2 separate regions of the Homo sapiens genome follow, and region 1 is linked to region 2. Evidence: promoter capture Hi-C in 16 types of primary human blood cells and fetal thymus (Javierre and others, 2016). All regions are on one chromosome and are shown on one strand. The core of a region is centred on a gene start or on the middle of the fragment in contact, and the rest is flanking DNA. Distances in the headings are between cores, read along the strand shown. Region 1 holds the start of ZNF202 (zinc finger protein 202). Region 2 holds the start of ZBTB44 (zinc finger and BTB domain containing 44).

What was found. Contacts are between HindIII fragments. The CHiCAGO score rates a contact against its expected background, and 5 or more counts as called.
Region 1: the fragment with the promoter of ZNF202 here is called in contact with the fragment with the promoter of ZBTB44 in region 2 in 1 of 17 cell types (naive CD8 T cells); the score reaches 8.2 in naive CD8 T cells.

Annotation. Positions count from the first base shown.
Region 1 is chr11:123,740,214-123,742,950 of GRCh38, reverse strand. It overlaps ZNF202 (zinc finger protein 202), which reads left to right and starts at 1,291. Exons shown (of 9, transcript NM_003455.4): 1 at 1,291-1,402; 2 at 2,415-2,534. RefSeq lists enhancers at 109-706, 1,696-1,905 and silencers at 1,296-1,345, 1,386-1,515. The HindIII fragment of the contact is 6,844 bases long and covers 1-2,737 here.
Region 2 is chr11:130,313,474-130,316,561 of GRCh38, reverse strand. ZBTB44 (zinc finger and BTB domain containing 44) reads left to right here and starts at 1,645. Exons shown (of 8, transcript NM_001301098.2): 1 at 1,645-2,187. It overlaps ZBTB44-DT (ZBTB44 divergent transcript), which reads right to left and starts at 1,569. Exons shown (of 7, transcript NR_148980.1): 1 at 1,447-1,569. RefSeq lists silencers at 552-611, 1,522-2,351 and enhancers at 912-1,011, 1,182-1,281, 2,442-2,491. The HindIII fragment of the contact is 9,181 bases long and covers 1-3,088 here.

The DNA.
Region 1 (2,737 bases), core at 42-2,541, 6.6 Mb after region 2:
TCAGACACCAGCACCTCAATCCCTTTCCAGTTCTCAGGCCTTCAGCTTTAGACTGAATTATACCACCAACCTCCTTATTTCTCCAGCTTGCAGTAAGCAGATGGTGGGACTTCTCAACGTCCATAATTATGTAAGCCAACTCCTTATAATAAATCTCCTTTTATATGTTTATACATACCCCGTGTGAAAGGAAAGTGATTTGGGGCCCCCAAAATCACTAAAGGGAAAATTCATGCTGGGAACTGCTTAGGGCAAACCTGCCTCCCCTTCTATTCAAAGTCACCTCTCTGCTCACTGAGATAAATGCATATCTGATTGCCTCCTTCCGGAGAGGCTAATCAGCAACTCAATGCAACCATTTGTGTCTTATCTACCTATGACCTGGAAGCCCCCTCCCCGCTTTGAGTTGTCCTGCCTTCTGGGTTCACACCTATTAGTTCTGTTTCGCTAATACACTGCCACTCCACCAAAAGTAACTAATCCTTTGGTTCAAACCCAGTAAACAGATCCCAGCAATGTGTCCCATGAAAAGGAAGTGGCACATGGCACGTGGAGAGTGGTGACTTACAGGGTAAAAGGGACAGAGAGCAAAGGAAAATGTCAAGTATGGGCAGAAAGGTCACCGAACGGACAAAAATGAACAAATGAGATCAGGGAAGACAGCCTGAAAGTAAAGAAATACGAAGCAACACTCAAAGGAAAAGAAAGAACAGTGATACCATAACTATTTTCTTTCTGAGCTTCTGATGTTCCATTCAGTTCATGTGCAATGTATCATTTAGTCCTCAGAGTAACGGTATTATTATGCCCGTTTTATATGATGCACAATAGGGTTCAAAGATGGAGAGATTCGGCCGAGGCCCTGCTGCTGATGGTGACTGCAAGAGCCAGTATTCAAACCTAACGCTGCCCTTTTCTACCATGTTGCAGCGGACAATGCAAAGAAAAAAAAATCAAGAAAAACACGTAGAGGTATCCAAATGAAAACAAACACACAAAAGATCAAAAACAGAAAAGAAAAAAGAAAAGAAAAAGAAAACCCTTGCAGAAGGTATGCCTGTAAATGAAAGGCCCAAGATGTTAATTTATTCGCTGCAGAGTGGAGTTAGGGGTCGCGGACGGCAGCTGTGGGGTCCGAGGCTTCTTCGCACTGGGTCCTTGGGGAGCACTGAGCCGCAACCCGCGGAGGGCGCATAGAGAGGATCAAACCTCCCACAGCCTAGAAAGGCTCCTACTCGGCGAGAAGGCGGGGCGAGCGATCGCTTCCGGTTCCGGGCGCAAAGGCCCCACGTGTTCCGACCCGCTAGGCCCCGCGCGGCTCGGATCCGGCGGCGCTGTTTCGGTCGGGAGTGGGTGGGAGAGAAGCCGGGGCAGGGGAGGAGCCGCCGGAGCTGTCGGAGCCGTGAGTCCTGAGTGGGCTGGGCTGGGCCGGGCCGGGCTGGACCGGGCCGGACCAGATCGGGCAGAGCCGGGCAGGGCGGGGAGGAGGGGGAGGGACCGGAGACCCCGCCCCCCAGAGTCTGGGGAAATCGCCGTGTCCTGGGGAAGGGGTGGCGGCGGTGTACTGAGGGTGCCGAGACGTTGTGGTCTCTGTGTTTCCTGGTGGCCGGAGCCAGTATCTCCGGGGACACGGATGGCGCTCCCGGCTTCCTTTCCTTTCCAGCCACCGCCCTCCGCCCCCTCCTGGGGCCTGCAGAAATGTAGTTAGTCCGTACCTCGTACCTCCTAACGCTTCCGCGCCAACTGTCCCCCCGGAACCGAGGGAGGAGTGGTCTAGGCCCCTTTATTTTCCGCAGCTTTTTCTTACCCCTCCTCTCAGATTGCTTAAGATCATCTCCGCGGGCTCCTTGCCCCGGCTAGCCCCATCTCCTTACACCACCAAGCCCCCCTCAGCCCCCCAGCACACACCCAGATACACTCACCCGTGATCTTGTCACCTGTGATGATAGTAGTCCTTGGCGTCCATTTGGCCAGAGGCTTTTCAGCTGCCACTGTGACAGACCCTGAGGTCCCCTCAAGCCAGTAGCTGCTGTCTCCACTTGCAACTTTCCTCTCCTCCCACTCCTAACAGCCAGTTTTGGCACCTCTTCTCAGCACCTGCGTTACTTTTAGCAGGAGTATACCTACTTCTTGAGTGTCTTGATTAAAAATTTGTTTTTGTGCCATGGATAGGCTGTGTTCCTTCAGAAAGGTGTCAGTCTAATTTTTGTTTTTCTGAACAATGAATGTTCTCATCTTCTAGGCGCTTTGATAACCCTGTCTGCCTTGGAATCTGTACTGACCTCCCCAGAGGGAGACTCTTAGACCCAGCCTTTCTTGAACAACCTTGGTCCTGGGGAGCAGCGCTAGATCCCAGGCTCTCAATTAGAGGCTGGGCTTAGAACTGTTGCTTTTTCTCTATCCACGCTCTGCAGGTGACACCCAGGGCAGCTACACTCAGAAGCCACAAGGAATGCTAGTGGAGCCCCTCATCCCTCCCAGCTTCTCTTCCAAGCTGCCCCGTGGGGCTTGATCCAGGAAGCTACTTCAGAAAGGTTGTGGGATAGCCTTGGGAGGAGGTTTGTTGGTGGGAAGCGTGTGAACGCGGAGCAGTCTGGGATAACTTTCTGCTGTTACTATCTAGCATAAGAGGGTGGGCAGGGTTGGAGAGAGGACAGGAATTTTTCCTCCTAGGACCAAACGCCTGGGATTCATAATCTTTCACCCTTTCTCCTCCAGCTATACCCTTTTTGTACTC
Region 2 (3,088 bases), core at 396-2,895:
TGACTACTTCATTTCCACCCTGATTCTTGTCCAGTTGCTTACCACCTACATACATTCTCACACATTCCTCACCAGGGCCCCAGCTCATGCCCTTTCCTGAGCCCTGCTCTGTGGCCGCCAGTCCTCTCCCAGGTAAGCATTCCGCCTTCTTTCCCTTCCCCTCTTCAAAACTTAGTGCAAAAGTTTCTGGGCCTAGTTCGCATCTTTCTGATTTTTCTCATCTCTGAAATGGGAATAATAAGAATGATAGTGGGAATAATAATAGAAACCTGTGATAAAACCTGTGAATTACAGTTGCCGTAAGGATTAGATAACATTATACATGCTTGAAAACTTGTTGGAAACTGCGAAGGACTATAAAAACAGAAGTTGTTTTTATTGCCTTTATTCCTAAAGAAGATTGCAAGTGTCAGGGTGTTCAGGTGCTTGGCTGCTTGTCTCTCAGAGTGAATTAATGTGAGATGTTGCCAAGTGTTTCAAAAGGAAAATCCACTCTACTTCAGCGGGACGTCCACCCACCTTGCACAAAACCCTCTGGAAAGAAGTCTTTCGGTTTGCAAACTGGAGGCGTGGGAAAACAGAAAGCGCCCAAGGAGCACCTGCCCGCACCCCGCCCGCCCCCAGGCACCTGGGGCGCTGCCGCCTGCAGTCCCGGGAACCCCTATGACCTCCGGGGGCGGTGTGGAGAGCGCTCGCCCGCCTGGCCAGGGGAAGCCAAGACTTAGGGCCCTAGGAGTTAACTAGGTTGATTGATTTTGCAGTTGACCAAGAACTTCAAAACCCCCCGGGCGGTACCGGTTACTTCGGGGAGGCCCGCACACTTCCTCCGGGAAGGCCAGGAAGTAAGTGATGGTGCAGTAAAAATGACAGATTCACGGTTGTGGAAGAAGTAGGGTATATTTTTGGAGCAGCTCTAGCTGTCCCTGTGTTGGAAGAACGAGAGGGACCTGGGAGTCCGTTTCTCCACTCATCTCAAGAACCGCACGTCCTGCCAGGTCACCGAGGCAAGTGCTAGAACGGAAGAGAGCAAGCACTGCGAGGAGGCCCGAGGAGCCACGCAATCCAGACACCCGCCGCATGTCGCAGTCCGCCCAGGACGGGGGCGCGGGCTCACCTGTCTGCGGGGCGGCCCTTGGCAGGCCTGTTTCCATGGGTGAACAATGGGCACCTTACCAACTAACCTCCCTCGCCGAAGAGGGGCTGAAGTGTTTCTATTTCGACCTCCCTACAAAAACTACCCGAGAAAATAGGAGTTATGTTTTTAGTTCGAAGAAAAAAATAATGCTATAAATGTGACTCCTGCGGAGAAATGCTTCTCAGGTGTGAGAGGGGAACTGGGTAAGAGGACGGCTTAGAGGAAGGACAAATGGGACAGGGCTTATGGGGCATGTGAATGTAAATCGGCACATGTGCGCACATATGCAAAAATACAGTGTCAAGACTCACGGCCTTTCTGGGTCACGCAGGCTCCACCGTCTAAGGAGACGGAGTCACCAACAGTACAAGTCCCGACGGCCAAGAGGGCCCATTTTCTGCGCTTGCGCAATCATCACGTTTCCTTCCCCGCCCCGAGCCCCGCCCCCGAGCGCGCTCCGCCCCGCCCCCTTCTCCTCCCCTTCCCCAGCCAGGCCGCCGGCGCAGAGCATTGTGGGACACAAACAAAGTGCCCCCAAACAGGCTGGAGTGAGCGGAGCGGCAACGGCGGCGGCGCCGGCCGCACGCGCGCGGCGGCGGCTCCCTCCCAACCTCCCCCTCCCCTCCCCTCAGTCCCCTTCCCCTTCCCCACCCCGCCCCGCTGGGAACACGCGAGCCGTCGCCGCGCTCCCCAAACAACCGCCTGCCCTCGGCCAACCGTCCCCAACGGTCGCCAGCGCGCGGCTCCCGGGCCCCCTCGCTCCTCCCCTCTGGCCCCTCCGAGCGCTGGGGGTGCTTCCCTCCCCGCCTCCTCGCACTCCCACTCGCGGGCACGCCGGTGGCTGTGCCGCCATGCCCCACCACAGGCTGCTCACGGGCCTAGGCGCGGCGGCCCGAGATAGGGGCCCCTGAGCCTCCCGGGGGAGGAGAGAGGCAGCGAGCCGCGCTCCGCCCCCTCCCCCCGGGCCGCCGCCGCCGCCGCCTCGCCGCCCCAGCCTGGCGGGAGAAGGAGGAGGAGCAGCAGGCCTCCGGGCCCGGCGCCGCCGCCCGCAGGTAACGGGGAGGGGAGGGCGGGCTCCGGTCGCGCGGGGGACGGCCCCTGCACGCTGCCCGTGGCTGACACCGCGTGGCCCCCACCTGGCGCCGAAGGGAGCGGAGAGCCGGGTCTGTCAGCCTAGTCCGCGCCGGGAGACACCCCACGGGATCCCCTCGGTGGCATTTAATCCTTCTGGGAGGAGACCGGCCTTGGGCCCCGCGGTCCCGGAGCAGTTACCCCGACCTTCCAGGGAGCTGCCCGTCCTTTGCACGCCCATTTGCCCAACACCCTAACCCGGAGCGGCCGGAGTGTTGCCACCTCTCACCTGGTCGAACCCGGGAGGCTCAGACCTGTTTTTTTTCCTCCTTTCCCCTTCTGCTTTTTCTCTGGTACAGAAAGAAAAAGATGGCACTTCTTTAAAAAAATATATATATATATATATACACACACACAAACACACACACACATACACACACACACACACCTCTTTTCCTTTCCTTCCTGAGGATCACTCTGCATCTAGTCGTTTTATTGCTGGCCTAATCAGAAAAAGGGGTTACCTCGAGAAATGACAGGTACGTTAGAACTGATTAAAAGGAAATTGCGTCCATGTGAGTTCTATGAATCCAAGCAGAATTTACAATAAAACCCCGTAATTGTGTGCTTTTTTTTGGAACTTACAAAAATGAAGACAAAAACTTAATTTCTTTTTCAGCGTGTAAGTAGATAATCTCTTGAAGTCAGGAAGAAATTCTCCATAACTTCCACTTATTTTCTTAATGCTTTATTTGGAGATCGGCTGATACCGGAAGCAAGCTGCACGATTTTGATTTCCTTTTCTCTAGGTGTTCAGTTGGAATTCTTGGGTTTAAAAAATACTGTATAAATCTTCATTTCCCCCATTACTTCACTTGGACT